7 separate regions of the Homo sapiens genome follow, and regions 1, 3, 4, 5, 6 and 7 are each linked to region 2. Evidence: promoter capture Hi-C in 16 types of primary human blood cells and fetal thymus (Javierre and others, 2016). All regions are on one chromosome and are shown on one strand. The core of a region is centred on a gene start or on the middle of the fragment in contact, and the rest is flanking DNA. Distances in the headings are between cores, read along the strand shown. Region 1 overlaps RIPPLY2-CYB5R4 (RIPPLY2-CYB5R4 readthrough). Region 2 holds the start of SNX14 (sorting nexin 14). Region 3 overlaps ZNF292 (zinc finger protein 292). Region 4 has its middle 4.4 kb from the start of RIPPLY2. Region 5 has its middle 47 kb from the start of SMIM8. Region 6 overlaps RIPPLY2-CYB5R4 (RIPPLY2-CYB5R4 readthrough). Region 7 overlaps RIPPLY2-CYB5R4 (RIPPLY2-CYB5R4 readthrough).

The links. Contacts are between HindIII fragments. The CHiCAGO score rates a contact against its expected background, and 5 or more counts as called.
Region 1: a fragment that was not itself captured here is called in contact with the fragment with the promoter of SNX14 in region 2 in 5 of 17 cell types (total CD4 T cells, monocytes, naive CD8 T cells and 2 more); the score reaches 8.9 in total CD4 T cells.
Region 3: a fragment that was not itself captured here is called in contact with the fragment with the promoter of SNX14 in region 2 in 3 of 17 cell types (naive CD4 T cells, activated CD4 T cells and total B cells); the score reaches 6.8 in naive CD4 T cells.
Region 4: a fragment that was not itself captured here is called in contact with the fragment with the promoter of SNX14 in region 2 in 2 of 17 cell types (total B cells and naive B cells); the score reaches 10.7 in total B cells.
Region 5: a fragment that was not itself captured here is called in contact with the fragment with the promoter of SNX14 in region 2 in 1 of 17 cell types (total CD8 T cells); the score reaches 6.5 in total CD8 T cells.
Region 6: a contact is called between a fragment that was not itself captured here and the fragment with the promoter of SNX14 in region 2, in 4 of 17 cell types (non-activated CD4 T cells, M0 macrophages, neutrophils and 1 more). The highest score is 7.6, in non-activated CD4 T cells.
Region 7: a fragment that was not itself captured here is called in contact with the fragment with the promoter of SNX14 in region 2 in 14 of 17 cell types (naive CD8 T cells, non-activated CD4 T cells, total CD8 T cells and 11 more); the score reaches 29.2 in naive CD8 T cells.

What each region holds. Positions count from the first base shown.
Region 1 is chr6:83,891,211-83,894,488 of GRCh38, forward strand. It overlaps RIPPLY2-CYB5R4 (RIPPLY2-CYB5R4 readthrough), which reads left to right. Exons shown (of 18, transcript NR_174604.1): 5 at 2,312-2,412. CYB5R4 (cytochrome b5 reductase 4) reads left to right here. Exons shown (of 16, transcript NM_016230.4): 3 at 2,312-2,412. Among named protein-coding and RNA genes, the nearest start is that of CYB5R4, 33 kb to the left of the region's middle. The HindIII fragment of the contact is 6,192 bases long and covers 1-3,278 here.
Region 2 is chr6:85,592,294-85,595,270 of GRCh38, forward strand. It overlaps SNX14 (sorting nexin 14), which reads right to left and starts at 1,565. Exons shown (of 29, transcript NM_153816.6): 1 at 1,286-1,565. The coding sequence starts at 1,425. RefSeq lists enhancers at 56-641, 642-1,225, 1,226-1,809, 1,258-1,427, 1,738-1,857 and a silencer at 1,488-1,707. The HindIII fragment of the contact is 2,215 bases long and covers 828-2,977 here.
Region 3 is chr6:87,251,289-87,254,257 of GRCh38, forward strand. All of the region lies in intron 7 of ZNF292 (zinc finger protein 292), which reads left to right. Among named protein-coding and RNA genes, the nearest start is that of SMIM8, 70 kb to the right of the region's middle. The HindIII fragment of the contact is 2,114 bases long and covers 291-2,404 here.
Region 4 is chr6:83,847,341-83,850,629 of GRCh38, forward strand. No RefSeq gene overlaps it. Among named protein-coding and RNA genes, the nearest start is that of RIPPLY2, 4.4 kb to the right of the region's middle. The HindIII fragment of the contact is 5,957 bases long and covers 1-3,289 here.
Region 5 is chr6:87,274,200-87,277,545 of GRCh38, forward strand. No RefSeq gene overlaps it. Among named protein-coding and RNA genes, the nearest start is that of SMIM8, 47 kb to the right of the region's middle. The HindIII fragment of the contact is 615 bases long and covers 1,771-2,385 here.
Region 6 is chr6:83,914,784-83,917,959 of GRCh38, forward strand. The region is part of intron 7 of RIPPLY2-CYB5R4 (RIPPLY2-CYB5R4 readthrough); the gene reads left to right. The region is part of intron 5 of CYB5R4 (cytochrome b5 reductase 4); the gene reads left to right. Among named protein-coding and RNA genes, the nearest start is that of CYB5R4, 57 kb to the left of the region's middle. The HindIII fragment of the contact is 5,635 bases long and covers 1-3,176 here.
Region 7 is chr6:83,865,333-83,868,694 of GRCh38, forward strand. All of the region lies in intron 4 of RIPPLY2-CYB5R4 (RIPPLY2-CYB5R4 readthrough), which reads left to right. The region is part of intron 2 of CYB5R4 (cytochrome b5 reductase 4); the gene reads left to right. Among named protein-coding and RNA genes, the nearest start is that of CYB5R4, 7.3 kb to the left of the region's middle. The HindIII fragment of the contact is 7,321 bases long and covers 1-3,362 here.

The DNA.
Region 1 (3,278 bases), core at 114-2,613, 1.7 Mb before region 2:
TACTGGGATTACAGGCATAAGCCGCCATGCCTGGCCTAAACATAACTTTCATATGCACTGGGAAACCAAAACATTAGTGTGACTTGCTTTATTTGCTTTACTGCAGTGGTCTGGAACCAAACCTGCAATATCTCTGAGGTACACCTGTATAATAAAGCACGAAGAAAAAGCATAAAGTTTGTTTTTTTATGTTTGTATTTCTCTGCCACATCCAGGGGTCCAAGTTTTTAGTTGTTCAGAAATACTTTTGAGAAGGAAAAAAAGGGAGATAAGGAAGGAGAGAAAGAGCAAAGAAGAGCCTCTGAATCAGAAGAAATGCACCTGTTCTGTTTTGGGGCTAGGTTTAAGTTTCATAATTAGCAAATTACTAACACAGCCAAGTGCTTTTTGATCTAAAGCATCTTGGACTGAGACACTATTTAACAGTGTTAATTCCTTGTGGTAAGGGATAGACATTCCTAGTTTTTTTCGTCTGGAAAGCATGGGATACTACTCACGTCCACGGAGTGATCCTAGCCCCTATCAGAAAGAAAGATAAGATTGTGACAGTATAAGGGTCAATGTAAAGGGCTAGCAGGTTAGCAGAGAACATGTATGGAATGTTTTAGGCTTTATGTGCTCATCATGGATAGCTATTTAAGCTACCAGAAGAGCTGGTTGCTGAAACTCGTGGAATTCCATCACAAATGATCATGGGTTGTAGATTTCTTGTTCTTGAGAAACTGTAGAACTCCAGTCAGGACTTGATTGTAGAGAAAGTTTGGAACTCTTGTTTGGGAGGCATCCTCTGTCTTAAAAAAGCCTATTGGGAGTAATTCTGATCCTAATCATTACCACTCACGTTTTTGGTCTCTGGATTTTGGAGCATTAAACAATGGGAAAAAATTCTTCTAAATCTTGTGGGACTCTAGGCATATGGGGAAGGAAAAAAGAGGGAACTTAACTAGTTTTGTTCAGACTTATTTGGAATGCTGCTGAAAGAAATTCTGTGAATTTACTTCCTTTTGTGCTTACCTTTAAGAGACTTTATAAAGCTGGACTGGTTGGTTATTTTCTAATATATAGCTGGTCAAAAAACTGCAGTACTTTTCTTGGGTCTGAAATCCAACCTCTTCTTTTCTTCCAAGATTATTATATAGGATGAACATTTTAAGTTATCTGAGGTTATTTAAATTCATGGAAGTCATCATATAAAGAGGAAATAGTCCTGGATATTTAAAAAAAACCAGTCGTTGTTATTGCACTTTCGTGATGTCTTTAGGGCTAGATTTGTCTGGTATCTATCTAGTTTTCAAGAATGAAAAAGCAACTTACTTCCTTGGGAGAGCTGTGCATTGAGATATTTTGTGTTTGTTGTTCCCTATTCCTTTCTTAAAAGATAAAAATAAATAACAGTTGAATAGATGAAAGAAATATTTGGAGAAGACAAAATGATTAAATTCTGAATAATAATCTTTGAGAATAGTTGGGCTTCCTTTTCACAGAGCGTGCCTAAGTGGTCACCATTGCTTAACCTTTGCTGAGATGATCAGAGACGTGGATTAGAGCTTGATTCTTTTTTCATCAGATTCTTCTACCAGGGCAATATGGAAATGTTATGTCTGTAGTAGTCACTTTCTCTCTCTCTCTTCCTCTCTCTCTCTCTCTCTCTGTGTGCGTGTGTGTACTTTCAAAAATTATATACACAGTATTTCATTTCTTTGTGTTGGGAGACAATTTTCTTTTGCATTTTTGCATGTCTTGAGAGTAGAGGCACTGTCTTTTTGTACAGTCTTTTAAAGGATATTTGCATTGTGAACAACCTTGAATGTTAGTGTCTCCCTCTAGAAGAAAGGACAGCTTTGCTTACTCTTCTGTATAATAAATATCTCCCTCAGGAGCAAGGGCAGGCATGCTTATAAAAGATTCCAGTTTCCTGAGCTCAGAGTTCCTCTTCTGTAATGCAGCGCATTAAGTGTACAGGTGTTACCTGGCCCTCTTCACATAGCACTCTAGTGAATTAGAGTTCAGTGAACTGACACAAATGTTTATATTCTGACTACTGCTATTGATGTGAGTGCTAAACTCTTCTTTGTCTCTGACCTAGGAGTCTCTTGTTATCTGCCAGGACCCATGAAAGTGGCAGGTTAAGTTGTTTGCTTGCAAGTGTGATGAAATCTCAGATCCTTTACAGTTAGTTCTTGATACTTTGAAATAACAGTGATTAATTAAATGGAATGTATTTGGAAAGATTTATTGAAACTTATATTTATAAGTTTTACAATTTTTGAGAAGTTCATTTAGGATATTATTTCTGTTTGCTTTGGTACAGGTTTCGTTTATAATGTCAGCCCTTATATGGAGTATCATCCTGGTGGAGAAGATGAACTAATGAGAGCAGCAGGATCAGATGGTACTGAACTTTTTGATCAGGTAAGATGTGCTGAAAGTAACCAAAGTATTCCGGTGGAAGAGTACTCAGATTTATCAGTGTGACATTTGTAGAAAGAAAGGAAATAGTTGCATAAATTCCAGATGCATTGGCTTGAATTTTGAAGTGTGGGAAGATGCTCACAAGTAGCAGCTGTTCATTTAATTTGCCCTTTGAGTTATTAAAATTTTAGAGATGTTTCAAATCTGCGACTAGGGGTCTTCTTTTAAGTGTTCGCTGCCTCCTTTGTTGGTAAGTGTTTATTCAGTCTTGATTAGTTTTGATAATGATCGGCTTATGGGAGGTAGTGACAATTGGAAGAAGGAACATTGGGATCCGCTGCTAACTTGCTGAATCACTTTAAACAAGTAACTTAGCTTCTTTTCTGTTAGTCCTTTGTCACCTAGGGATTGCTATATATTCAGCCTACTGCTATATACTGAATTTGCATGTCATGTAGAAAGTTAGCCGATGGTGATTAATGAATAGAAACTTATTTTTCCTAGCATGATGGCAGAGATTCTGTATAGGTTATCTCAAAAGATATTTAAATTAGTCACTTTTCCCCTTATATTTACTAAAAACTAGCATTAGCTCTTAAACTATTTTAAAGTTATGCAGAATGTTGATTACTCTCAGTAATTCTGAGTATTCTGAGACAACAGTCTTTAGAAAGATAGAAATTTGCCTTTGTCTCATATATGCTTTATTTTGTATTTTAATGATGATTAACCATGTTGTAATATTGGATTTTTATCATTCGAGATACCTGAATCAGGTTGGGTTATATTATAGCTGTTTTTTTGATCAAATATAATTTGATTTCTGTTCTTCCTATTTTCTCATCCATTTTAGGACTTGTTTTTTG
Region 2 (2,977 bases), core at 315-2,814:
CATAGTCACAAATAATGGTTACACCAGAGAAAAATGAAGTTACCAAATTCCTTGCGCATTCCTCCCTGTTGCTATCCTTGGGAATCAACTACCTTAAGATAAAGAGTAAGAATGGTTGCCTGTTCAAAACATCAGAGAAAACAGCTTGCGGATGCTGTCAATGAGAACTATCTCAGATTTCTTTCCACCAAAAGCAAATCTGGTGTTAATTTTAATGGAAAAGTCTCCTCTACTACCTATTGCATCGCAACAATTTCTTGAAATAGTAAAATGAAGTAAAACAAGTTTATTTCGGGGGCAGAATCTTCTGATTTCAAAATGTCAATTGAATTTATCAATTTTAACCTTTCGGAATATTTCAGGTTTTTTTGGGGAGGGTGGCATCAAGTCCTCTTAAGAATATTATAGGGATGTGGCCGGGTGCGGTGGCTCACGCCTGTAATCCCAGCACTTCGGGAGGCCGAGGCAGGCGGCTCACGAGGTCAGGAGATCGAGACCATCCTGGCTAAAACGGTGAAACCCCGTCTCTACTAAAAAAAAAAAAAAAAAATACAAAAAAATTAGCGTGGTAGCGTGGTGGCGTGGTGGCGGGCGCCTGTAGCCCCAGCTACTCGGGAGGCTGAGGCAGGAGAATGGCGTGAACCCGGGAGGAGGAGCTTGCGGTGAGCCGAGACCGCACCACTGCACTCCAGCCTGGGTGACAGAGCGAGACTCCGTCTCAAAAATAAAAAATTCTAAGGATGTTGGGACGGGTACCACTTTGCTTTCTGATTTCTGTCCAACAAATCTTTATGATCGTCTGTTTTATTCAACAATACTGCGGGAAAAGCTTCAGCTGCAAGCTGAGGGGGTGGGAGGTGGGGAGATGGAAGAACGCGCTGCAGGTGTGCGGATTCTGCCTAAAATTGCGGCTACGAACTGGACCTTGAACACTCCTCCGTCAGCTGACTTGACTGCCTGTGTACAGTCTCAATTTGAGCCGACACACGGATTTCACTTTTGAAAAGCAACGAAGATGAAGAACTCGTTTTGAGAAATGGATGAGAAAAAGGTAGCTCAGGAGACGAAGCCTCGGGAAAGGAGGCAATCAACCCCACCCCACCGGCCTGTGCTTCCGGCCTCGACGCTCCGCCGTGCTCCCCGAGGCCGCTCCTCTGCGGAGCTCGCTCTCCCCACTGGTCCCCAGTCCCGCAGCTACGCGGCCTCCGCACGGTTAAGCAGCACGGGCCGGGCGTCTGCACCTTCGGAGAAAAGCCGCCGCCCAGGCTCCGCGCTGCGGCGTTACCTGTTAAGAAGCAGGGAGGCGGCGCTGAGACAGAGCAGCAGGAAGCAGAACAGCGGGTACTGGCGGCAGATCTCGCGTCCCACGTCCAGTCGCAGCCGCTGCTTCAGCTTCTGCCCCATCGTCCGCACCCAGGGCACCATCTCCGTAACGGCGAGGCCGAGACTGCGCTACTGGCTGAGGCAGAGGTCAAGGCGACCCCCCATCCACACCTCGCGTCCCCGCCCCACCGACTTGGCGGCGCACACAGACGCCTACCGGCAGTTAGCCGCCGCAGGCTGAGGTCGCGTCCGGCTGGGCCCAGCCCCACGCCCCCCGCCGCGCGTGCGCGGCCGCGGTCCCCAGCCGACCAGAGGAACGGCCGTAGAACGTGCCCGAAGTCGTCACCCAGCGCAAAGCCTCTAGCGTCTCGCCGCTCCGCCCTCCTGGCCGGAGTAGCGCGCAGTCTTCCGTGGAAACTCTGACAACACTGGCGACCGGCCATTTCCGGAAATCAAAGGACAGCCCCAGCACCCAGTAACTGCCTGTATTGCGGAGGAGAGGGAAGAAGGTTGTAGGGAGCCCGGAAGAAACTACAGCACCCCCGTAGCCGCCGGGCGCTGCCTGAGGGGCAACCGGAGCTCGTGGAGCCCGCTGGGAACTGTAGTCTTCGTGACACGAACCCGCAGAGGGATGGAGCGGGTGGTAGCGCTTCCCCGACCCCGCAACGCTCCGCGCCTCACCGTACACTCGGCTCCGGGTGGGAGCAGGTCCGAGCTTTGCGTGACGCCTAAGGGAGAGGGGGATAGGAGGACGCCTTTGAGTCGGTATTTTAAAAGGGGTGTGTTGGGGGCTGGGGGGGTGGCGAGTAAAACAGCCCTAGAATAAAGACTACAACTCATCAGGCCGCCACCCCACCAACAAAATCTCTTTTGCGCGCTCACGGGCAAGGGTAGAGCTCAATTCACGCCGGCTCCGGGAGCCCAACCAAAATCCGAGTGCTTGGAAGAGGCAGGTTGGCAGATTAGGTAAAATCCCTCTTATAGAGTCTCATGGGGTTTTCCCTTTACTAATTCATCACATTTCTAAATTTTTTTTTCTGTATTGTCCGCTACAGTGAGAGATGCAGGAAGACTATTATCGCGAAAATTTACTTAGGCGGTACAGACACTAAGCACTTTCATTTGACCTTCATGCATTCACCCCATGGTGTAGGTACAGTACTATAGTTTCAATCATTATACAGGCAAATTACTGAGACAGAAAGGAACTTAGGATCATAAAACTAACAAAGCCGGAATTTGAACACGTTCTAAAGACAGAGCCTGTGCCTGTCATCTCTCTTTCCTAGGATCTTATCCTTCAAAGTGGGGAAACAAATGTTTTTTAATGATGTATGTAGTTTCATGAATATTTTCCCGTATTACAAAAACATGGATCTTTAATGATGCATTATTATCCTTTATCAGAATGTACCATCCTGTTCCATTATTGCTAACCACTAAAGTCCATTGATATTACCATCCTTGATGATAAACCTATGCACATTTCTAATTATTTAGAATCAACTTTAATACAATTACTGGGTCAAAGGGTAAAAACAAACATTCTTGATACAGTCAAACTGCTTTGTAGAATGGTGGTACCAACTCCACAGTGGTGTATAAAAGTAAACAATTTCACTGATCCTCACGATTAGCTATTATTGTCTAAACA
Region 3 (2,969 bases), core at 98-2,597, 1.7 Mb after region 2:
GTTTTAAAACAGGGTAAAGCATGATGTTATGAGTGGGCAGGGAAGAACTGAATGGGATGTTACATGGGAAACTGAAAGCAACATGCAAGCCTTGGGTGGCTTTAGGTCAAGGATACTAGGCAGCCAGAGGGAAAGAACAGAAAAGGCAATGGGAAGAGGGTACAAAAGACAAACCTTTCTGTTTTCCAGAACTTACCTGGTGCTGTTCTTTTCCTGGAAAGGGATTGAGTTTCTGTTCCTCCTCTGAATTAATGTCACTTAGCTTTCTGTTCCTGTGACTCATCAATTTAAGCTTGTGCTATTAGTATTTGTGATTAACTGTTATGAATTAAATAGATTTTTATGGGCAAATCACTTAATTACATTGTCTTTATAGAAAATTGTTGTGAATTTTAATTCAACTTTTAAAACTTACCTGCTGTATAGCCAGTTTATGATTTGAATATTGCCTGTTCACTTATTTTCAAGTACACACATGAAAGGTCAGAAGGAAAAAAAATTGTAAAATATAGTTTCTTTTGTTTCATTGTCATTAATGTAAAGGTTTCAGGTTTAATTATAACATGAAAATGTTTTTAAAGCAAATTTATTGAGGCTCCTCACCCTTAATGAATCAAAATGAACCTTTGAATTTAGTTGCAGACTGGATTAGAATAGAATGTCAGTGGAATTCCCCTTTTAAATAATTTTAGATGTGTCTTGTGAGCAATAAGTAGAATTCTTTAATCAGCTTTTGCCATTCCTGGAGAAAAGGCTCAATATTCATATGATATAAAATAGTTATATTCTGCAAGACAGATACCCTTCATCCAGAAATCCTTCATTCTCTGAATCCTTTCTGTTTGTTGTTTGTTTTTTTTTTGTTTTTTGTGTTTTTTTTGAGACGTTGTTTTGCTCTCGTTGCCCAGGCTGGAGTGCAGTGGTGCAGTCTCGGCTCACTGCAACCTCTGCCTCCCGTGTTCAAGTGATTCTCCTGCCTTAGCCTCCTCAGTAGCTGGGATTACAGGTGCCCGCCACCACGCCTGGCTAATTTTTTGTATTTTTGGTAGAGACTGGGTTTCATCATGTTGGCCAGGCTGGTCTCAAACTTCTGACCTCACATGATCCACCTGCCTCAGCCTCCCAAAGTGCAGGGATTAACAGGCGTGAGCCACCACACCAGGCCTCTCTTAATCCTTTTTTAAAATTTCTCCATCATTTCCTGAATTTCTGAATAATCACACTGCTTCTCAGAACTTTCACCAGTAAGAACTTGTACCAGTTCTTCTGACATTATTATATGTGCCTTCAGTATTACTTTTAATCATCTTTATGGTTTACTTGGCCCTTAATTCCTCCCAGACTTCTTTCTTTGTGTCTTTCTGTGTGTAGTATGCAGCTTCACAGACCACAGGTGATTTTTTTCTTTCTTGCATATCGTAATAGAGGAGTGGCCTAATTGTTCACCATTAGCAGCCCCTTAAGGCATGTAACAGAGATGCAGATGTTTTACTGTACAAGTTTTAAGGCACAGATCTATCTAGGAATAGTATAACATATACAAGTTTATATGAAATCAAGAGACACCCATATGGTCCCACTTCCTTCCCAGTTTTCATCTTCCCTGTCATTTTTTATTTTTTTATTATTATTTTTAAGAGACAGGGTCTTGCTCTGTTGCCCAGGCTGGAGTGCAGTGTGCAATCCTAGCTTACTGCAGCCTCGAATTCCCAATTTCAAGCAATCCTCCTGCCTCAGCTTTCTTTGTAGCTAGGATTACAGGCACATGCCACCATGCCCAGCTAATTTTTTTTCTTTTTTTTTTGATAGAGATGAGGTCTTTCTGTATTGCCTAGGCTGGTGTCAAACTCTTGGCCTCAATCAGTCCCTCCCACCTTGCCTTCCCAAAGCACTGGGATTACACGCATAAACCATGAGCCACCATGCCCAGCCTTTTTTTTTTTTTTTTTTTTTTGAGACAGGGTCTCACTTTTGTCATGCAGGCTGGATTGTTGCAGTGGTGCGATCTCTGCTCACTGCAGCCTCAGCCTTCCAGGTTCAAGCGATCCTCCTTCCTCAGCCCCACAGGTAGCTGGGACTACAGCTGCATACCACCACACCTGGCTAATTTTTGTACTTTTTATAGAGATGGGGGTTTCCCTATGTTGCCCAGGTTGGTCTCGAACTCCTGAGATCAAGCGATCCTCCTGCCTCGGCCTTCCAAAGTGCTTGGATTATAAGCATGAGCCACCGCACCCAGCCTAACCTATCATTTTAAAAATACGTCTCTTCATACTTTTCTTTCTATTCATTTTCTTTTTGGTCATTGTGCTCTTGCTGTTTCTAAAATCAAGACCAATTCAGTATCCCAGGCTCCTTTTCCTTTTTAGTAAAAATACTAAAATACTTTTGCCCTACAAGTTTAAGCTTCTGATTTAGTAAAATATTTTCTTCTTAACTTAATGAAAATAGAGGCCCTATCAGTTCTCTCTACTTATTTTCTTTGTTGCCTTTTGATCCTGTATCGTACATATTTTATTCCAGTGAATGTGGCCACATCCTGTGGCTATCTTATTTCTCATTTATCATTGTTCCCTTCTGGTCTTTAAAACCCATTTTTATCTCTTTACTCCATGTGTCTTTCAAATGACTTACCTTTGTTATTGCTATCTAATAATAATAGTTCAAGATGCTAATTCAAAAGAAAAAGTTTGTTGGGCTATGTCTACCCCTACTCCTAATTCTTAAGCTGGTCCAGCCATGAGGTAGGTAATTTGACATTTGGTTTTATGATAGCACTAGAATCTCCACTATTAGGGATTAGTACCTTATTTTATAGAAGCAAACTATTTCTTTCAGTACTGATCAGTTTGGAAATATGGGGATGTTCTCAGTTTTATAATTAGATTAGAAGGGTTTTGTTTCAGTTAGATTGCTTATGCAAACAGGAAGTAAGAGTTACAATAAGGATGACATTTATTGATCATTTA
Region 4 (3,289 bases), core at 532-3,031, 1.7 Mb before region 2:
CAGCTGTGAGTCATTATATTCCTCTCATTCCTTCACACTTCTGTTTTTCACCTTACTTTCTAAGTGGAGAATCAGTCATATTTGGGCTGAGGTCATCAAAAAGGGTGGGGAAACACCAGGTTACATTCAAAGTGGGAGCCCAGTTCAAGCTCCAATTTTTCTTTTAATTGGTTACTGTTCTCTGGCTATACAGAAGCTCATATGAATGTTTTAAATGTGATCTTGACTTCTCTTTTTCCTCCTCAGGGACCATCATTTAGCACCCTTTCGCCAGAGTATACTTCCTTTCTCACATCTTATAGTAATGCAAAGAGCCAAAGATTAAAAAATAAATAAATAAATAAATAATAAATTAAAAAATAAAAATAAAAAAAGAGTGTTAGGCCCGCAAGCCCCAGGTATAAGGTAAATTTATAATATTTTCTCTTAGTAAAATACAAAGTTTGGTGGCACAGATGTCTGTTAGAAGGCAGCTACACAAAAATATAAGAATTTTGTCAGTTTTGTGCATTTAACATATCCCAAGATCCTAAAATCGTGCCTGGCACATAGTAGGTATTCAATAGTACTTGTTAAATAAATGAAGTTTTAAAAAATGCTTGTCCTAATGGACTATTAAGTTTGATCCACCTCATTGGTGTGTTATGAAAAGTGTGTTGATATGTTAACATAAAATACATTTTAAAAATGTACAAGTGGAACTCAGTATACAATTCTAAAGTAAATTTAAACTGTAAAATGAGTTAAGTTATACCTCAGATTATGTTATTTTATGATTCTGTATCTCTTTATATTTATTTTATAGAGCTTTACGTCCTCATATTGCATACAGCTTGGATAAGAAGTACATATCTATGTTCTAAAATAAATATAATGTCCCTGAAAATTGTACTGGTTTTCTCTTCTTTAGGCACAGCTTATAGTTAATATCCTCCTTAATGATTTAGCTAAGAAATTCCATCTTTGATGGAAATGATAAACATGCAAAAAAAAAAAAACTAAAAGAAAAATAGCATATTGATCTTGGCCTCATGAAAATCATCTTCAAGATCTGTATAAATAGGTAGCATACATTAAATTAACGTATAAATGGTAGGTTTAGGATCTTTCTAATAATTCATATTTCTGTTTCTCAGTTTACTTAAATTTGGTCAAGTAAAAATCTTGCCATATTTTTATTAATTGGTTCTCCTTTTTTTCTAGTAATGCATTTCTTTTCACAATTTTAAGACAACCGATATTTTCTCAGATTCAAGTCTCATCACTACAGTAGATCCCTCCTTCTCCATGCCAGAACTAGTCACCTTAATTAAACTTGTTTCCTGGGAGTTCCCAGACCTGGATTATTGTCGTCACTGATTCACACACTCCATTCTTATGAGGATTTTCTTCAGGGCTATTGATCTCATTTTTTCCTTCCTCTTTGGGGACCATGAACCATCATCCAGCCCCTGTCTCTTCAGAAGCATCTCCTCTCCTGCCTCCTCTCCTCATTTTCTAAACATACTTTTGTCTGCACCCTAAAACCAAGATCCCTTTATGGACCCAGCACTCTCCCTCTATTTTTCCTCTCAAAAGAGTAGCTCAACTCACTGTTTTGATTTCTTCTTCACCTCTAATCTACAACTCAACTTGCTGTAAAAAAAAAAAAAAAAAAAAAAAAAAGGTTCTGTCCCTATACAGTCAAACGATATTGTTCTAAATTCACTTATAACCCCTTAAAGCGGTTATATTGCCAAATCCAATTAACACTTGTCCTTATCTTATGTGACCTCTTGGTAGCCCTGACTGCGTTGGACCTCTTCTGCCTTATTGGAGTTCTTTCATCCCATGTTTCCACCACACCTGCTTTACTAAAGCACTTTCGCACCTTGCTTTACTGAAACACTCTCTTTCTCTTCTTCTTATTCCTCTTCTTCCTCTTCTTCTTTTCTTCTTCCTCTTCTTCCTCTTCCTCTTCTTCTTCCTCTTCTTCTTCTTCTCCTCCTCCTCCTTTCCTCTTTTCTCTCTTTCTCCTCTTTCTCCTCTCTTTCTCTCCTCCTTCCTTCCCTCCTTCCTTCTCTCTCTCTCTTTCTCTCTTTCTTTCCTTCCAGTCTTGTTTTGTCACCCCACTGCAGCCCCAACTTCCCAGGCTCAAGTGATCCTCTGGCCTCAGCTCCCTGAGTAGCTTGGACTACAGGCATGAACCACCATGCCTGGCTAATTTTTTTAATTTTGTTTTGTGGAGATGAGCTCTCATTATGTTGCCCAGGTTGGTCTTGAACTCCTGAGCTCAAGCAATCCTCCCACCTTGGTGTCCTAAAGTGCGAGGATTACAGGAGTGATACACTGTGCCTGGCCTACTGATGCACTTTCTACCAGCTTCACCACTCCTTTTCAGTGAGATGGATTTTTTTGTTTGTTTGTTTGTTTGTTTGTTTTATTTTGCATATCCTCTCACCTTACAATCAAATGTTGATCTCTAGGCTACTGTCCTTGGTCCTGGACTCAAGCTACAAAATTTCCCTGGGAAAACGAATCAATTCCTATTGTTTTAATCGCCATTTTTTTTTTTGCTGATGACTCTCACATTTAAATCTTTAGCCTTAAATTATCTACTAAACTCCAGACCTCATGTCTCTGGTTGTCCCCTGAATATCTTCTCCACCTACATGTTACTGAGCCTTCCAAAGTCTCAGATCTATTCTGAGTTCTTTTCCTTGGGGTGACTGTATTTTACATGTAGGAAGGAAGACAAACTGAATATTTAGTAGCCAGAAGGGCAGATTATGGCACTCTTATATGTTGTTTATTTCTGTTTCTCCACTTTCTGAACACATGGTAGAATTGCACTTCCTTGCTTTTTGAAATTGGTGTGTCATGTGACTTGTTTTAGCCAGTGAAATGTGTGTCCCTTCTAGGCAGAAGCCTCTGAAACCTGGTAGGCAAATAATTTTATTCTTTTCTCCTTGTACATTCCAGCGGGAAGAGGCTCCATCAGCTTACATCCTTAAGTGAAGATGATGTAGAGCCGACCTCACACCAACCAAAAATGGATGTAGGGCATGAGTGAAAAATAAGCCCTTGCTATTTCAAGCCTGTGAGATTTTTGCATTATTTGTTACCACCAAATAGCCCAGCCCATCCTGACTGATTTAAGATTCAAAACCAAACTCATTATTTTTTTCCTGCACATCATTAACAGAATAAAACAACATAAGAGGATCTCACCTGCTCTTTATCCTATGCTCCCTGTTTTCTATGTCTGTGTTTGAGCCATCACCATTTACTCACTTAATCGGGCTAGAAA
Region 5 (3,346 bases), core at 828-3,327, 1.7 Mb after region 2:
TAGGTTGCTTAGTATTTTTAGCTGGAAGATTCCATAAAAATTATCCTAGTATCAGAAAAGAATTTTCTCTAGGTGATTACGAAGCAGTGTTAGGAGCTGATTAGTAAGTGATTTTCGTTTTTTAAGACCCACAGTATATGTATTATATATATATCATGTATATTATATATATATATCATATATATCATATATATATCATGTATTCTATATATAATAGAAATTTACTTATTTGAAAATTTCAAAACCATCCTTAGTAATTTATTTACTAATATATATATGTGTGCATGTATATATATATGTATACCTATTCACCTTTGCTTATGGTTTAATTAACATTGGTTCCAAAGGAAAAGAATAAACTTCTGGAGCCAGGAAGGAGGTGGCTGTGTTGATGAAGGTAGGGAGCACAGAACAAAGGGGCTGTCTACAAGAGGTCTGCACTGCAGTGTGTACTCTTAAACCAGAGAAACCAAGAGAGAAATGGAAATGAGAAGCAATTGTGCAGGAATTTAATGGACTCTGACTAGAGTAGAATTCTCTAGTCAGTGTGAATTGGGAGGGTTATAATAGAAACTTGTAGTCAGAGGTTTTGTTTGCTACCAGGTTCTTTTTGTTCCCCAGAATAGCTATGAACATGGCAAAAGAATGTTCACTGTGCAAGCTGCACTTACACTGTCTTTAGTGCTACCACCCATAGGTCTCCTGGATCCTCCTCTTCCCCTGCGTAAGTTGGAGAAAAGAAGTGGACACGATGATGATGGCCCTCATGTCCCTAGGTCCCTCTGTAGCAGTGAGGTGTTCAAGAAGCCACTGGGCTTTTGAGGACACAAGTGTGTTTCAAACTATTCAGGAGCAGATCACACCAGGCAGTTCTTCACTGGAGATGTCTGTGAGTCATCCTCTCAAGAGGAATGCCCCCTTCTTGCCAAGTCAGATTTGCTTCTTTTATACAGAGGCTTTAACATGTTTTCTTTTTTTGTTTCTTGTTTTGAGACGGAGTCTTGCTCTGTCACCCAGGCTGGAGTGCGGTGGCGCTATCTCGGCTCACTGCAAATTCCACCTCCCGAGTTCACACCATTCTCCTGCCTCAGCCTCCCGAGTAGCTGGGACTACAGGTGCCTGCCACCACACCTGGCTAATTTCTTGTATTTTTAGTAGAGACGTGGTTTCACCATGTTAGCCAGGATGGTCTCAATCTGACCTCGTGATCCGCCCACCTCGGCCTCCCAAAGTGTTGGGATTACAGGCCTGAGCCACCGCACCCGGCCGCCTTTAAGATGTTAACCAACTCCTTGACACTTAAGATTTGGATGGGAGAAGGATATACAGAGAATCAGTCTTGTTTATGTTTTTTCAGTACACTTTTACATTATCCAAATACTTAAGTCATTCTTGGCAATCCTTGTTTGCTACTTCCAACCCTATTAAAACTGATCGGCTCATTAGATTTACTTATTTGAAGATTTTAAAACCTCAGCTGCAGCAGTACAAAATTTTCTCTCAAGCATGTGTACTCTTAAAGGAGAATTTCTAATCAAGTATGGCAGTTGGGTGTTCATTTATGCAGTTTAAAATTTGATCCTCACAACCACCCCTGCCCCATAAGAAGAGGAAAATTAGCAACCCCATTTTATAAAGACAGTCACATGGGAAAATTTAAAGACTTTTAACAGCAAACCTATGAAATAGGTCTCTGGCCCCTAGTTCAGAATGTTCTCCATTGTCCTGGCTGATGAGTGTATTGCCATTTATTTCAAGGCAGAAGAATGAAGCTTGAGATTGTCAGAAATATATAGGGAAAGTTTTTAGGTTTTCATTGTAAATACAGGAAGTAGTGCAATACACTTCTCATTTCAGTAAATAAGGCAAAATTAGAAGTTATGTCATACATTAATGTCTTCAGTTTAAAAAGTCTTATCACTATAAAATGAGAAACAAGTAATTCTAGTTTATTTCAACAAAATCTTGAGGACCGTATGAAAGAGAACATCTGCTCTGCCAGAAGTGAAAAGACCAGAAACCTAGAATGCTCTGATCATGATGTGCTCTTAGCAGCACAAAATAGAGGCTGGTTGGCTCTGTGTAATCCTTGAGCTTTAGGTATGTGTTGTTCGGACTGCCTTTCTCTAAGCTGATATCCCTGACAATGAGAGAAAAACTGAATTTTGATTTTAAAACTATAATCTGGAACCCAGCATTCCTGTGGCCTAGCTACATTTTTTTTTCTTTTTCTTTTTACTGACCAAGCTATAACCTCTAGGCAGCTTTCCTTGGAAATACAACATTGAAGCAAAGGGCAGACACGCTCTCTTAGAGTTTTCAAGTCTCATACACAGAATTGGGCCCTCAGTTACAAAGTGCCGAGCTCAAAGATCCTGGAAGAGAAGCTTGGGAAGCCCAAGGCTGAGGACTGGCTCTAGATAGAACAATAGGTAATATTTAATAAACAATCATGTGTCAGCAACTGTTCTGAGCTCTTTGTATGGCAATTCATTTCTCATAACTAAGAAAGGAATTAGCTACCACTGGAGGTAACTCAGTCTTATTTGTGTTATCACCATCTGACTATTCCAAGGGACCAGTGTGTTCTTGCTGAGTCAGGTTAACAATCCTAGATACTGCTTGAAGGAAAATTTATATAGTAGTCAATAGCGTGTGTGTGTGTGTGTGTGTGTATGTACACACTATATACACACACCTTCAACAAAGCAAACATTGTGGTAGATTTTATAATCCTGTCAGGGTAGTGAGAAAGACCATGTCACCATTTGGCAAAATTTACATTCAAATCCTGTTACTACCTTGCTTTCTCTTCTTTATCAGAGGCCATATTCATATTGGCTTCATCAAAGTTACATACACTCCTTTTCAGCAAACGTGTATGCATAATCAATAAATATTCAGATGTTCTTTGAGCACTTTTCTCAGAATATTTTTTTTAGGTGATTTGCTTCACTTGTAGCTGGAGTTGGGTCTGGAGTGAAATTGGAAGTACAGTAACTTACATGGCTCCATATGAAGTAAGTTTAAAAGTGGAGGTGTGTGATGAGTGTATAAAGCTTGTCAGTTTCATAGGCTAACTTAACATACATGTTGCTCAGTTACTGAATTGCACAGGATTAAGAGGCCACAAGATGGCAAACTAACACTGGAAAGGAGTATGTACAGTTAAGGTCTGAAAATTGAACCAGAAATTACCTTCCCATTTTTTATTTATATTTTAAAGGGGACATGGGCTAATATGTGGTAGTCATTTATATTTTGGGGTACTTAAACAGTTATTAAAGTACAGGTTTTTTTTATTGGGAGATGACTATGACACTTTAGCTATTGGTCCATTTTAGGA
Region 6 (3,176 bases), core at 426-2,925, 1.7 Mb before region 2:
CTCGGCCTCCCAGAGTGCCGGGATTACGGGCGTGAGCCACTGTGCCCGGCCTAGATTTTTTTTTTTTTTTTTTAATATGAAAGATAGCTTTACTGGCCCAAACTTAAGAGTCTTTTGTAGGGTTTTATAGGCTCCTTATTCCAGCCATTACTCTTATCGTCGTGCCTTCTGTGACATCCCTGAATACATGTTATCTTCCCTCAGCTTGAATACTTGTAGCAGTTAGGAGTTTCTTCCTCAGAAACAAGACAAAATAAGTCAGTTTTCTTAGATGTGAGCTCACCTCCATTGTTTGCATACACATGCCAAATAGTTTATTAATCTACAATTTTTTAAGCTGAGTGGTGCATCCAGCCATTCTGGATGACTTGCAAATAATGACTGACACTTCCTCTCCCCCGCAAAAAAGTTTGGCATGGTGGTCACTACTGACATAAAATGCATGGTGCTAACTCTGACTGAACTATATTGATGTACATTTAGAAACATTTTTTTCTTTCATTTGCAAAAGCAAGTTACAGAAATGCAACTAACAAGCTAGATTGCCAGATGAGTTACCTTTTTCTTTGTTAACTGAAATAGTCTATATTGTGGACTAATTTATGCAATTTATAGTACCTGTAGTTGTTCATCGGATAATATAACACTCTATTAAATGAGGGACTGATCTTTGGTTTCGTCTGATGATTGACTCTTCTGTGGCACTACAAAAGCAACCATTGCTTAATGATTGATTACCGATAGACTAGGCATTTTCTTTCCACCACATGTGGCTTCCAGAACCTGTACTTTTCTGTTGCCTTCTTTGGATGCACTGCATTTGACTAATTTCTCAGTAAAAGGTGGCATTAAGTATGGAATATAGCACTCCACAAGTGATTTGGTTAGCACTGTTACCTCTTGTGACCTGGACCCTGTAAGATTGGAACATATCTGTCTATCTATATATTTATTAGCTGCTTTTCCCTTTTGGCTCATTTAAGTCTATGTGGTATGTCTCTGTATTTGCAAATGTGATCTGCCTGCATTCTATGTTACTATTCCAATAGCTGCTTAAAATACTGAATGGGTTGGACTACTTTCCTATTCCACTAGAGACCCGATCCCTTCAAATTGACGACATTCAATCAACCAATACTTATGGAAGGGAGAACATGCATTCAGTCCACCTTGCATTACTTAATTATTTTTTTTCACTACACATTCACCCCGTATTCTTTCAACTTACTCAAAATAATATTATGTAAAGTTTGAGGGTTTTTTTTGTTTTTAGTTAGTTTTAAATTAAGATATATTCCATGGCTTATTATTCTGTTTTAATAAGATATATCTTAATTATACTAAATAGTTTTTTAGAATGTTTGATTATTGTCTCATTTGCTCACCCATGAGATTGCAGGGACCATTTCATTGCTATTAATAGTTCCAATTTGAGGAAGAGGAAACAGTGGCTTGCATAAAATCACAGTACTGGCACCGAGCTTAAGTATAGATTTTCTGGTCCTAATTAGGTCATACAAGATCAATGTTGACTTACAATTTATCAATTCTGTTTATAGCGTTTTCTTACAGAAATTCTTAGATTTTGATGCATTTGATTTTTATTTATATACTTAAGAGACTTCCAAAAGAGAAACAACATTAATCTCTGAAATCTTTCAGTGCTTCTTAATTTAATAAGATTATTTTGTCTTGCTTTTACCATATTAGAAAAAATACATTTAATTCTTGTAGTCCTCTCTTGTTTTACGTGTAGTTTTGTAGTAGAGCACTCTTCTTTTAGTGCCCACTGCTAATTATTAGTTCACAACTCTGACCTTGTTGTCACATCTCTGAGGCTTCCTTTGTTTATTTGAAAATAGTGTTCTGCAGAGTTATGTGGGAAGAAATGGAAGCTGAATGAGTAAGGCCTGGACTCAGGGCTCACCATCAGCCCATTCAGAAAAATATGACTGTTTTACATCTTACTTGCACTTGAGCTTGTCTTGAAACAAAACGTTTGTGTCTAAAAAGAATCTTGAAAACCTCTAAACTGTCTTGTCCCAAAGGTGTCTTGCAACTCTTAAATTTATATCAAATACTTTGATTTCTAATTTGGGCACCCAAGACTCAGCAGATACTAACCATTAATTTTTGTTCCTGTATAGTTTGAAAAATAGTAATATAATTGATGCAATGATTTTCAAAAGTCATGTAGCAGCAGTACTTCTTTTTTCCAAACTAAATCTTACCATATACAAACAATGCACTTCTATTGTAGGGGGGAAACACTTAATGTTTGCAATATCTTGAGTTCTTCCATGCCTCAGAGTTTTCTGAAGTCATTTAAAAACCATAGCATTAGTGGGCTTTTAAAATGCATCATACACCCAAGATGCATTTTGTGGGTGTACATACCCACAAGAATGCATACCCACAAGAGTGAGTAAAATGGGAAAAGACAGAAGACCACATGTTGGTGAGGTTGTGGAGCAGCTGGAACTTTCAAACACTTTTTACTGTGGTAAAAAGTGTAAATTGGTACAACCACTTTGAAAAGCCATTCAGTAGTATCTTCTAAAGCTAAACATACAAACACCCTTCATACTAACCAAAAATGTAGATATGTGTTCTTTAAGAATATGCATGTACCTGTAAAAGAATATTTATATCAACACTGTGTATAATAACTCCAAACTGGAAACAACCTGAATGTTCATCAACAGGAGAATGAATAAATTGTGAACTATACATATAAAGTAATACTGCTCAGTTACAAAAAGGACCAAGCTGATGAATTCAGTAGCATGGATAAAATTTCAGAAAGCCTAGATTTGATTTATTGCTTATTATTTATCATGCTTATTTCACATAAGAACTGTAATGTCTAGAATATTGGACAAAAAGCCAGACTAAAAGAGAACATGTGTTATCATTCTACTTATATAAAGTTCAAACACAGGCAAATACTAACCATGGTGTTAGTAGTCAGAATACATGTTACTCTTGAGGCAGGGGTGGTGATTGAAAAGGGGGCATGAAGAGAGTGCTGACTGCAAGGGTATGTATGTTTCACTTTATCACGGCCTTTTGGCTAAGATCAAGTGAAAATATATTGAGTAGTACATTTGTGATTTGTATCCTTTTATGAATATATGTGATATTTCACTAAGAAGTTAACTTAAAAGACAAAAAGT
Region 7 (3,362 bases), core at 140-2,639, 1.7 Mb before region 2:
AAGGACCACAAACTAGATGGCTTAAACAACAGAAATTTGTCTCATAGTTTTGATGGCTAGAAGTCTGTGATTAGGGTGTCAGCAGGGTTCGTTCCTTCTGATGACTGAGTAACAATTTGTTCCATGCCTCTCACCTAGCTTCTGGTGGTTTGCTGGCAATCTTTGGAGTTCCTTGGCTTATAGAACATTACCCTAATATCTGACTTCATCTTCACGTGGCATATTCCCTATGTGCTTGTCTGTGGTCAGATTTTCTGTTTTTATATGGACCCTAATCATACTCGATTAGGGACCTCCCCTACTCCAGTATGACCTCATTTAATTTTGCATCTGTAACAACCCTATATCCAAATAAGGTCATATTCTGAGCTACTGATGGTTAGGACTTCAACCTATGAATTTGGAGGGGGACACAGTTCCACCCATAACAGACACAATTAGAGTGTGAAATTTTCAGTGGCAAAGGGTATGGAAACTTCCAGCAGGTGATGACGTAGTTTATATTGAGACATAACAGGTGTTCAGCTCCCCAAAGTTCCTCAGAGACCTACAAATGTGAATGGTACCAGCAATCTGGAATGAGGATTCTGGCAGGTGCAAAAAGATCCTTTTGACATTTTATAGGGTTTTTGCCACCCTCTTTATCCTTCCTTCATGCTCCCTATCTGTTTACCAGCTGCAAGTAACTGGTACAAAATGACTTCCCCATTGTGCCTGAGTGTTTTCTGCTAGATAGGGTGAAGTCAAGATTAATTTCCCAAGAACACCTTTCAGCTGGCCCAGGCTGCAGGCATGCCTGAGTTCTGTTTCTGCACTAGGAAACCACTTTAGAAAACTTGATTATGTGAACCCTTCATATCCTAGTGATATTAGATAATTGAGGCATTATTAGAATACAGTTAGACTTTATTATTCATATGATGTATTGATGGGGACAAGGGACTGGATTGCTGTGTTTGAAAAGTGATACAGGTTGAGTATCCCTTATCCAAAATGCTTGGGATCAGAAGTATTTTGAATTTGGGATTTTTTCAAATTTTGGAATATTTGCATTATATACTTACTGGTTGAGCATCCCAAATCCAAAGACCGGAAATTTAAAATGCTCCATTGAGTGTTTCTGTTAAATATATTGGAGCTCAAAAAGTTTCAGATTTTGGAGCATTTCAGATTTATGAATTTGGGATACTTAACCTCTACACTGCTCCCGGTTCCATATCCTCTGTAATGATTTGAATGTATAGCACCTCGTCTGGTAAGGTGGTTGAATTAATCATGGTTTGTTTTTTTTTTTTATAAAGGAGACAGGATCTCGCTTTGTCCCCTAGGCTGGAGTGCAGTGGCTTGATCTTGGCTCACAGCATCCTTGACCTCCTGAGCTCAAGTAATCCTCCTGCCTCACCCTCCTAAGTAGCTAGGATGACAAGTGTGCACCACCATGCCCAGCTATTTATTTTTTATATTTTTCTAGAGATAGGGTCTTGCTCTGTTGCCCAGGCTGGTCTTGAATTCCAGGTCTCAAGCAGTCCTCCTGCCTCAGCCTCCCAAAGTGCTGGGATTACAGGCATGAGCCACCATACCTGGCCATGAATTTTTTAGAGGTTTCTGCTGGGGAACATGTTCTACTCTATCTATAGTAAGATGTTTTCCCCTCTTTGTAGAAATAAGATGTGTCTTTTTTTAAATCTTTTTACAGAGTTTGGTCTTTTATTTTATCAAGAAATACTCAGTTTAGACCCTGCTGATGGAGGAAGGATAAATTATTGTTAGCAGGCAGAGTGAAGCACCTTAAGAGGGCTACAAAGTGTAAGTGATATCAGACTGTTGGAAGGGAGACACATGAGTTAGGAAAATCAGGGATGCTTTTGTGGTAGAGATAAGCCTTGAAGCAGTAGACAGGATTTCAATAGGAAATGAGGAAGTGCACTCAGGTGGAAGGAAAGGCCTGAACAAAGGTACAAACACAGGAAAGTTTGAGGTGTTCTGGAGCTTAGGTTAATTGTTGGAGAATTATAAGAAGGAAGGCTGGAAAGGTATGTTAGGTCAGATTGTGGACAACCTTGAAAGCCAGACTGGGAAATGTGTTCCTCATATAGATGGCAGTGTGTACTCTTGAAGGGATTTGAATGTGGGGACAGTGTTATAAGAGTATGCCTTGGAAAGATTAATCTGGTGGTAGGTGTGGTGAATTGAAATAGGGTAAGGAAAGCATTTATCTTCTTACAGAAGTTCGGATGATAACAGGAGGTGAACCAGGATGTTGACAAAGGTCATGGAATAATAGGATGAATGTGAGACAAACAGATTACTGGTAACTTCTAGCACGATCCCAATGAAACTAAAATTACATGTGTAAGGGAAATGGCTGTGCTTTAGTCAGGAGTAGGCCGAGGTGGCCTGTATGCACAGCATGACTCAGCGGGTTTGGAGCGCAGGCACATAACCTCGCACATTATGTAACCATGTCATGTGAGCTCGTGCTTGGCTCTGAGTCACTATTGTCTGTAAAAAGTATAATTGCCCTGCTTACGCTGTACATACAGCTTGCTCACACCCAGTGAGAGAGTAAAGCCATGTTGAAACTGTCTGCGATTCCTCAAGTGTTTTTCCAGCTACCCTCCACTTGCCCACCCACTCCCCTCAGACCTCAGTTAGAACCTGACAACATGACTAAACAAAATTACCTTTTTCTTCACAGCTGTTCTAATTTAAAATATTACTGATAGCTTCTTAATGGGGGAATGTGTGTGCCAACTTTAGTCTTGAAGGTTAGAGATAGTGTTTGGACCCAAGTTTTCATCAAAACTGTGCCACAGGGAAGCATGGTATCATAGTGCCTTTTTTTTTTCCCTTTTTTAAAGTACTAATTCCTTCATTTTGTGACAATTGCCCCATTTTTAGATTAGGTCTGAATTCAACTGATCACAATGTGGGAGACACAATCAGTTTCTTCAGGAAATCTTAGAAAATATACAATTTGGTATGGGTTTTTATGACTAATATTTTGGGGACTGTTTTCTTTTTTTGAATAAGTAGCAGCATTTCTGCTTCATGTTCAGGTGTGCCGAGCCTAGTCACATACCTTAAAATGATGGTATAAAAACAGCACTTGGCTGACAGTGGGATATAAAAAATGAGCATCAGTTTGGAATGATCTCTAAGACGTGTATCAAGTTCCTAATTTTTTCATTTAATTTTCACCATTTTCTGTAAAGTATGTAATTATTGTAATGCAGTAGTAGTTAATTGGAATGCTGAAGAAATCGGTTTGTAGGGGGATTACTGCTTTTTTAAAAAACTTGAATTTACCATTAATTCATGCTTTTATATTTTTCTCTCTTGTTTCTCCCTCTCTTTCTCAA